2 separate regions of the Homo sapiens genome follow, and region 2 is linked to region 1. Evidence: promoter capture Hi-C in human tissues and cell types (Jung and others, 2019). All regions are on one chromosome and are shown on one strand. The core of a region is centred on a gene start or on the middle of the fragment in contact, and the rest is flanking DNA. Distances in the headings are between cores, read along the strand shown.

The links. The method cuts DNA at HindIII sites, captures the fragments that hold promoters and counts their contacts. A contact is called where the count stands out against the background at its distance.
Region 2: the fragment with the promoter of RAPGEF3 here is called in contact with the fragment with the promoter of SLC38A2 in region 1 in 1 of the 25 tissues and cell types used here (hippocampus).

The regions. Positions count from the first base shown.
Region 1 is chr12:46,369,881-46,374,600 of GRCh38, reverse strand. It overlaps SLC38A2 (solute carrier family 38 member 2), which reads left to right and starts at 1,828. Exons shown (of 16, transcript NM_018976.5): 1 at 1,828-2,092; 2 at 3,222-3,423; 3 at 3,744-3,825; 4 at 3,974-4,089. The coding sequence starts at 3,308. SLC38A2-AS1 (SLC38A2 antisense RNA 1) reads right to left here and starts at 1,818. Exons shown (of 2, transcript NR_187299.1): 1 at 1,739-1,818; 2 at 823-1,288. RefSeq lists enhancers at 1,269-1,328, 2,009-2,088, 1,946-2,649, 2,339-2,668, 2,749-2,898 and silencers at 1,579-1,918, 2,119-2,318. The HindIII fragment of the contact is 23,415 bases long and covers 1-4,720 here.
Region 2 is chr12:47,756,433-47,761,152 of GRCh38, reverse strand. It overlaps RAPGEF3 (Rap guanine nucleotide exchange factor 3), which reads left to right and starts at 2,273. Exons shown (of 28, transcript NM_001098531.4): 1 at 2,273-2,602; 2 at 3,075-3,287. The coding sequence starts at 2,597. It also overlaps a transcript of SLC48A1 not described here. RefSeq lists enhancers at 1,725-2,393, 2,394-3,062 and a silencer at 2,104-2,453. The HindIII fragment of the contact is 24,154 bases long and covers 2,230-4,720 here.

The sequences.
Region 1 (4,720 bases), core at 579-3,078:
CACTTGCCACCCATAACTACCAACCCTGAGGGCCTCCTTAGCACCTCTAACTGGGCAGAGGAAACGACCAGAGATTCATCTGGAATGAAAAAGTGGTTTAAGACCTTTTGATTGTTATCAGTTGAAACCTAATATAAAGAAACTTCCTGGGACTCCTCTCTAACCTACCACTACCAAGATTGTTGTGACAAGAAGAGTTGATTGATTTTATTGGGGAATGTATGTGGAAGGAAGATAGTTTTTTCAGCCCTAATTGTGTGTCAAATTCCAAACCTGCCCTTGGGGAGTTCACAATCTTTGGGCAGATGATACTACAAATAGTCTGGAACGATTTTGAGTGCATGACAGCACGGATTTTTAAAAGTCCGTCACCATATTGTTTTAGAAAATAGTACCTGCAAAAAGAGGGCTGAGTACGGAGGGATTAAGGCATGCGGGGCGCTTTCCTGTGGCTCGAAGACTAAGCCTTGCATGACAGCGGCATTTAAGGGGATGAGAGGAGATTGGACACCAAAGCAAGAATGGCTATTATTTAAGACTGGCCTGAACAGAGTAGAAGGTTTGCGGTAGGGAAGACTGGCCTGAACAGAGTAGAAGGTTTGGGGTAGGGAACACAGGAGTGTGATGGGGGAAATCGGGACCTCGCTTGTCAATCATAAACACTGGTGCAGGCGAGGGCACCCGAAGCCTCACGTGCGGCGGAAATAGGCAGTTGTACGGATTTCCTCAGTAAAACATTGAAAGCAAAAACTGCGATCACACCCAGCCCTTTCCTCTATGCCCTGCCCAATTTCTCCCAAGTCCCCAAAAGGAAGAGAGCAGTAGGTCAAACTTGTTTATTCATTCATTCCATGAACATTTCTCTCTCCTAAGGGGTCTTTGTTTCCTGCAAGGGAGTGAGTCTTGCCTTTCCCGCAGCACCAATTTTTCCACAGCGAAGGGTCCCCCTAGTTGCCTGGCTCAGCAAGACCACACACATCACCATTGAAGGGAAAGGACCAGGCTCCGCAGAAAGCGCCTCAGACCCGCATTCAGACAAGGCAGTGCCTTTGCCCGGGGCGGCGGTGGTGGGATAAGAGAAGCAACGTGTCAGCGAGTGGAAAACTGGGGACTCCCAAACGGCCTTAGGAGCGCCGGGCTCCCCACTGGGGCCTCTTTCTAAGGGGCCTGGCTTGCTGGCCAAAAGGTAGCCTTTCCGCTAGTCCAGTTTCCATGGCCGTACAAAAAGCACATCCCGAAAAGGAGCTGCTCGCCGACCTCCGGCTAGTTTTGAAGAGTGAAAGCAGGTCTAGGTGGAAAAGAAAGAACAACAAACCATCAGGACAACCTTGCTGCCTTGGCCCAAGTTTGTGAGACAAAACTTCACTGTAAATCACAAAAATAACAATCAAGAAAGTGTTTGGTGGGAGGGTGGTGTCCCCCAAAAGCCTTGATGTGTCCCCCGAAAGCAAGGACTGCTGGTGACTCGGACAGGAGAAAATTTTAAGGAGATGGCTCCTCAAAGACAACCGCATGTGTTGAGCACCAACCCTGGCTGAAAAGGATAGGCAGGGGAAGCATCTGGGGGTCTTTCCAGACTATCTAGAAAGCTGGAGAGAGTGGGCTTGGGCTTTGCGGGAGAGTCTTGGGGGCGCCTGCGGGCGGGGCTGGGCCGCGGGCGCGGGCCGCAGAGGGAGGGGCAGGGAGGCGGGGCCTAGGTCTGGGCGGGTCGGAGGCGGGGCCCAGGTGGTGTTGATACACAAAGAGAAGGCGCCCGGGCGGCCGCGGTCCCGCCCACTGACGCGTCCCCGGGGTGCCGCTATAACCCGCCGCTCGCAGGGCTGCTCCACAGCCGCGCGACGCCGCCGCCTTAGAACGCCTTTCCAGTACTGCTAGCAGCAGCCCGACCACGCGTTACCGCACGCTCGCGCCTTTCCCTTGACACGGCGGACGCCGGAGGATTGGGGCGGCAATTTGTCTTTTCCTTTTTTATTAAAATTATTTTTCCTGCCTGTTGTTGGATTTGGGGAAATTTTTTGTTTGTTTTTTATGATTTGTATTTGACTGAGAGAAACCCACTGAAGACGTCTGCGTGAGAATAGAGACCACCGAGGTAACGCGTGCGGGGGGGCGTCTGTGGGAAGGGCGCGGGGCCCGGGCGAGAGTGGGGGAGGGGCTTCCGGGAGGGGCCGCGCGGGAAGGCGGCCGCGGGGTCCGTTTCCTTTCGAGGCGGGCGTTGTCGGTTGGGCTGGCCAGCCTTCCACCCTGGCCCGCCGCGCGGGTGTCGCGCCCGCGACGTGGGTAGGAGAGCGGGCGCTGGGCGGGGGCCGCGTGCCTGCACGGTGCGGAGCCGCATCTTCCCATTAGGGGGAGGGGAGCTAGCCCGGCCAGCGGCTCTGCTGCGGCAAGTCTTGTGACTGATTTGCATTTAATAAAAAAAAAAAATTAAGTCCAGGGAGCCAGGAATCTGGGGGCGGCGGAGGTGGGCTTGGGCATGTATTACAGGAGAGGCCAAGATTGGGGAAGACGAGTTGGGAACATTTGACAATCGACGATCGATATTGCATCAGTTTTCTTTCCGGACATAGGAGGGGCTGGGCGGGCGTAGCACTCGCGGGCCAGCTGCCTGTGGACGGGTGTGCTTGAGGGCACTGGCGCGCGTGTGTAAACAAACCCCCAGCTCCCGGGGCCCGGGCGTTCGCCCCCCTCGAGAGAGGAGTAGTGTCGGCCCTTTCCGCCTCCTGGGGAAGGCTGTCTGCGGCAGAGGCATTTCTCCGTGTGGGGACTCCGGGCAGTAAAGGACAGATTACGCAGCATTGCTGTTCCAAATGCTAGAAACGGAAAGCCGTGCGCCTAGGTTGCATGCACACGAGCCAGGGTCGGGGCTGGATGTGTGCCCTGAGTGCCTGTGCAAGTTTGGAGCGACTGGGAAAAAGCAAAACAGAACCCCCCCTCGCCCCCTCCACTCCGACGAGGGACAATAGAGAGGGTGAAATACTGAAATCTGCCGGAGTAGGGGGCCTCGACGGCCGCAACACAGCGGTGGCATCATCTTTGTTCTCCCCGCGGCTCCGCCGTCTGTACTTTTCCGCCCCTCGGCGCGCCCCCGCCCCTCGCGCGCGGCTGGTACTTTTCCACTCGCCTGGCCTGGGATGAATCAGCCGCGCTGCGCCTCCGGGCGGCGTCACGTGACCGCGGCGGGCTGGCGCTGCGGTCCTGACGCGCCGCCTCTACTTTCGCAGGCCGACTCGCGGGCCGCTGCACCCACCGCCAAGGACAAAAGGAGCCCAGCGCTACTAGCTGCACCCGATTCCTCCCAGTGCTTAGCATGAAGAAGGCCGAAATGGGACGATTCAGTATTTCCCCGGATGAAGACAGCAGCAGCTACAGTTCCAACAGCGACTTCAACTACTCCTACCCCACCAAGCAAGCTGCTCTGAAAAGGTGGGAGAAGTTGTGACACTTTTGAAAAAACGGCTTGCATGGGTTGGGTTCAGGGAGTTACCTAGGACTCTGCTTCCATTGCTTTAATTTGCTATAGCATTTAGAGAAGGTGCGTAATCTCTGAAAGAGTATCCGATTATCTTGTTGTAATGACAAGATAGCTGGTGTGAAAGTCAACTCCTAGTTAATATTTATACATTAAGTAAAGATGTTGTATCAGAGCTATGCTGTTGGAGGGTATTTTATGTTAAAGCAGTCTTGTGTGTAATGATAGATATTTCAATCCAGTTTACAATTATATATGTCTATATTTTTTGCAGCCATTATGCAGATGTAGATCCTGAAAACCAGAACTTTTTACTTGAATCGAATTTGGGGAAGAAGAAGTATGAAACAGAATTTGTAAGTTAAAAATAGTAATTTGTCTGTCAGTGGCTTTATGGAGTAAAAGAATAGTTTTACTTTTAGAATTCAAATCTAACTTGCCCAAAGCTGGTTTTCTCCATTTAATTATTGTTATATGTTTGGTTATCGTTTTCCCTCTATGTAGCATCCAGGTACTACTTCCTTTGGAATGTCAGTATTTAATCTGAGCAATGCGATTGTGGGCAGTGGAATCCTTGGGCTTTCTTATGCCATGGCTAATACTGGAATTGCTCTTTTTATGTAAGTATGTGTAAGTAGTGAGTCTGCCATGCAGGGCAGTTACTATGGTAAAACATATTTTGGCTCCAGAAACTGAATTTACAGTTGGAGTAGCTGACTCAAAAGTTACTTGCTTAAAATTAAAAGTATGAGAAACCCCAAAAAATCTCTTTATTCTACTACATACTGCACAATATCAAGAAAGCCAACTAGAAAAAAATAGGGCAGTCCTTAAAACTGACAAATTAAGCCAGAAGTCTTCTAAGTCAGTGGGAATAGTTAAAACAAAATTGTAACAGATGGTAGATATTAAAAAAACTATGGCTAAAGCCAGGGTAGGTATAAATTTTGTTTTGGCAAATCAGAAGCTGAAAATCCTAATAAGCTCCAAATCATTTTGGTAAATCGACACAGTTCTTAAGGACCTGTGGCCCCTTACGTGAATAAGGAAAAGAAAATTTCTCTAAACATACAAGGTGTGGTGGTATTTACCCAGCCTGGAACATGTTTGTTTTAAGACGAGGAGGTCATAATTTTCTGGACCCTGAAAAGCAATCCATACATGTTTTTTTAATGTTTGCTTTTGTCAGACCTGTTCGATTGCCACATGTTGTGGCAAAAAATGAATACTTTAGTAAGTACTTATTTTTAA
Region 2 (4,720 bases), core at 1,024-3,523, 1.4 Mb before region 1:
TGATCTTGACTCACTGCAACCTTCGCCTCCCGGGTTGAAAGAATTCTCCTGCCTCAGCCTCCTGAGTAGCTGGGATTCCAGGCGCACGCCACCACGCCTGGCTAATTTTTGTATTTTTAGTAGAGACAGGGTTTCACCATGTTGGTCAGGCTAGTCTTGAACTCCTGACCTCATGATTCACCCCCACCTCAGCCTCCCAAGGTGTTGGGATTACAGGCGTGAGCCATCGCACCCGGCCTCAATTTTCCTTTTTTGAGTAGACTCTCCTAGGCAGTCTAGTCTACATTAGAAGAATAGAATACATACAGAGTATACGCAGTATACCATGGTGAGTACGTGGAGACAGACAACCTGGATTCATGCCCCAGCTCCACCATTTACTAGCTGTGTGACTTTGGCAATTTCCTTAATATCCCTGAGCCTCAGTTTCCCCATCTGTGACGTGAGGATAACAGAAGTACATACCTCACAGGATCGTGGCAGGGATTAAACACATGGAAAGCACTTGAAAGAGTGCCCGCACATGATTAGATTTTGTAGCTCTGCTGAAATGTATACAAGTGTCCTGCCTCACTCCCCAGCATCTTCCACCTGCCCAGAGTAAGGGCAGCAAGAATAGGAAATAGGGGACCCCTTTGTGACCCAACTGCCAGTCTCAGGAAGCCTTCCTGCAAGAACTTCTAGGCCAGGGCACTGGCCCCAGCAACCCGAAACTCATGACTCCATCCCCCTAACTCTTCCCCATGCATACCTGTGACTCCCAACTTGTCATCCTTTCCTGTCAGTTTCCAGGTTGCTCTTCCTTCTTCCAAATTACCAGAACTCCGTTGAATGGATTTGGGTCTGAGGTCAGATTCATTCTCAGGCTTTCCTCCTTCCCCGGAGAGGCATTTAAAACTCCACCAGCGTTTCTTAATGTGTGGACACAGCAGATGACCTGGGGTGTTTGTTCCAAATACAGATTTTCCATTTCATGCCAATAGGATTGAATATGAATTGCTGGGGACGGAGCCTGCATTTTAGTAAGCTTCTGGGAAACATTTTTTATACATGTATACATTAAAAATGGGATTTTAATCACAATTAAAATTTCTCTCCCCACTTTCAAGAAAATAATAATTGGTGGAGGATGGGGGCTTGGCATCCCAAAATTGGGAGTATAGGCTTCTTAGAGCTACCTCTTCCCAGTCTTCTCCTCACTTTCAAGAAAATAATCATGGTGGAGGATGCGGGCTTGGCATCCCAAAATTGGGGTATAGGCTTTTTAGAGATACTTCTTCCCAGTCTGGGCTGGCTCAACAGCAAAGGGAAAAGGGAAGAGAAGGGGCAAAAAGTCCTAAAAAGCTGGGGGTGGGGCGTTCACCTCCTTCCAAACCCTCATTATCGTCCTGAATTACGGGTCGCTGTCCCCGGCCACTGTCTCTCCACCCTCTCAGGAGTGGGGCGAAGAGGCCCGCGCTGGGCCATTTGCACAGTGGTGGAAACTGAGGCCCAGGGAGGCGTGGAGCCTCGGTAGCAAGCCTGCCTAGCAGGGCGCTGGAATGCCCGGTCTCCGCCTCAACCTACCCGGCCACCAGGGAGCGCGCGGTAGGGGGCGTGGTACTCGAACACCTTCTGCTCCCCTGGAAGCTCTGCCACAACCCCAATCTCCTCTTAGGGCCCCTACCCGTTCTGGAGAGCAGTCCTTCCTCTCCAGCCTCAGTTTCCTCAACTGCTCCCGGTGTGTGTGTGCTGGGGCAGGGGGCAGTGGGGCGTGGGTCTGGGAACGGAACTGTGGGAGGCAAGGCAGCGGGATTCCCCGCGGGAAAGCCGCCTATTCCCTCCCCCGGGCGGCTGGAGACCCTGAACCGAAACAGGAGGCAGACACCCCCAGCCGGGAAGCGGCCCCAGCCCGGATTTCCCTCCCGGGTGAGGCCGCAGTGACTCACCCCCTCCCCGCTCTCCCCGGTTTCCTTGTTTGCATTTCTCCTCCCGGCCACGTGGCGGCCAGTGCAGCCACTCACCGCCGGATCCCTGACACCCCGGCCGTTGCGGCCTCCTCCACACACTTCGGGGCCGCTCCTGCCCCCTGGGGATACTCTGGGCTCAGGCGGATGTCCACTCTGGTACCCCCGGGTGCGGACTCCAAAGCCTGCCAGTGCCGGCCCCCTTCCCCTACGCATTCCTCTACCGTAAGGCAGGGCGCCTCCACCCCGCCCCCTCCGCCAGTCCTGGGGAGGGGAAGGGGGCGGGCAGCGCAGGGGGTGTGACAGCTCCCGCCCGGACCGGTGCCAGCGCAGCCTTGCTTCAGCGCCCGGTGCCAGCTGGCTCCTTCGTCTGAGACGAAGGCGCAGGCTCGGGGCTCCCTGTCGCCGGTGGCTGGGTGGCGTCCCCCCACCACGCCCCCACCCCTCTACTCACCCAAGAGGAGCCTCTCCACCGAGCCCTGCATCCTGCTGCCCTGGCAGCCAGTCCAGCTAGGCACTGGCCCAGTTCACTGTACCTGGACTTACCCACTGGCACCCTCCGGATCCCCTTATCAAAGCTGATGGGGGTCGCTGGGGACCCCCCAGCCTTTTGCTAGAGCCTGCACGGCTGTGCGAGCTTGAAAAGAAACATGAAGGTGGGTAAGGTGGGGTCAGGGTTGAGGAGGAGCAGGAGAGGGCGGGAGAGGAAGCTGACACGGTGGGGAGTTTGGGTGGGAGAGGGAGGGTTAGTCAGGGCTGAGGAGGAGAGGAGAAGGGTTTAAGCCGAAGCTGCATTTCTGGGAGACCTAGTGAATCTATAGCTTCATACTGGGAGGTAGTGGAGATCCCTGCAGGGGCATGGGCAGTGAGATGGGACAGAATTCCAAAGAGGACTAAGAAGGGCCTGATCTTTTCCAAGAGCCAGCTGGAGACCCCTAAGTGCGCCAGACCGGCAGGCCCCAGTGAAGGTCTTCCTGTTCCTCCCCCCAGCTCCTGGCAGGGTTGCAGCACCTCCGCCTGACCAGTCCAGAGGACTCTAAGGAAGTAGTTCTGCCTGGGGCAGTTGTACTGTGGCCCAGCCGCCCCAGTCGTGTCCCATGGCTGTCCACTTTCCTCCCCGTGTCACAGGTGGGCTGGCCAGGTGAGAGCTGCTGGCAGGTGGGCCTGGCTGTGGAGGATAGCCCAGCTCTGGGAGCACCGCGGGTGGGAGCCCTCCCTGACGTGGTGCCGGAGGGGACACTACTCAACATGGTGTTGAGAAGGATGCACCGGCCCCGAAGCTGCTCCTACCAGCTGCTGCTGGAGCACCAGCGTCCGAGCTGCATCCAGGGGCTGCGCTGGGTGAGTACCTTTCACCTGCCCAGGTGCCAGGGCCAGTACCAGAGCTAGAGGGGGGCCTAGATCATGGCTTGGCATGCTGCTGGTGGCCCAGCTTGCTCTGGGGGTGTACAGTGGTACAGCTGCCGTGGACACTGGGTCAGGAAGCTTGTCTGCAGTGTGCGTGGGTGGCTCACACAGCTGCAACGTGTGTGTGTCTGTGTGTGTGTTCTGCCCAAATGTCTCTGTTTGGGCATGGGGGGAAGGGGAAAGGGATTTGTTGTTTATCTGTCACCTCAGTGAGCCGGCATTGAGTTAGGTACTTGTGTGTTCTTTCCAGGTGGAGGTGGGAGGTATGGGGGCCGGGTCAATGGGTTGGAGTGAGGTAAGCTTGGTTACAGTTCTGGGTGCATCACCGTGGCAACATTCTCCTTTAGTGAGTTACTGAACTGTGCTAATTCTGCGTTTTGGTCTTAGGGTGAGGTGATCATGTGGACACTGCTTGGTACCTGCCTTTGGGGGGCTCAGGGAAGGATTCTGAGACATTTGGAGAATCTGAGATCACCAAAGTGCCCTTTGCTAGTGAGAAACATCTCTGGACCTGAAAGAATGAAGGAGAGAGCAGGGAGGGGAAAGAATGGTGGGATTTGGGAGGCAAGATAATGGCTGTACTATCCAAATCAGCAGAGAAGCTATCCCCAACCATCCAGACTAAATAGAGTAGCTTAGCTTGAGATTCAGTTATGTCTCCACTGCGTGTGTCCACCCAGGTTTCGCTATGTTGCCTAGGTAGGTCTTGAACTCCTAGGCCCAAGCAATCCACCTGCCTTGGCCTCCCAAAGTGCTGGTATTACAGGCGTGACCCACTGCGCTTGGCCGGGAGAGTTCATTTCTTTTTTCTTTTCTTTCTTTTTTTTTTTTTTAACCAGAGTCTTCCTCTGTCACCAGGCTGGAGTGCAGTGAAGCAATCTTGGCTCACTACAGCCTCTGCCTCCCAGGTTCAAGTGATTCTCCTGCCTCAGCTTCCTGAGTAGCTGGGGCTACAGGTGTGCGCCACCACGCCCAGCTAATTTTTGTATTTTTAGTAGAGATGGGGTTTCACCATATTGGCCAGGATGGTCTTGATCGCTTGACCTCGTGATCTGCCCACCTCGCCCTCCCAAAGCACTGGGATTACAAGCATGAGCCATTGCGCCTAGCCGAGAGTTCACTTCTTATTGGCAAGTCCTTTTGAGTGGAATAACCACCACCCTCTCCCTCCTTCCCCCTACCTTGCCCAACTGCCATTTACAGTGAGGCTGAGTTGAAAAAACTGAGACCTACCAAGATGAGGGGCTCCTCTTTGCAATCAGAATTGAGAGGAGAGTCCACATGTCAGTCCTGGTAGAGCTGTTCTCTACTAGGGTCTTCCTTATCATGAGCCTGGGTCCTCCTCCGCTACCCCTCTGGCTCTCCGG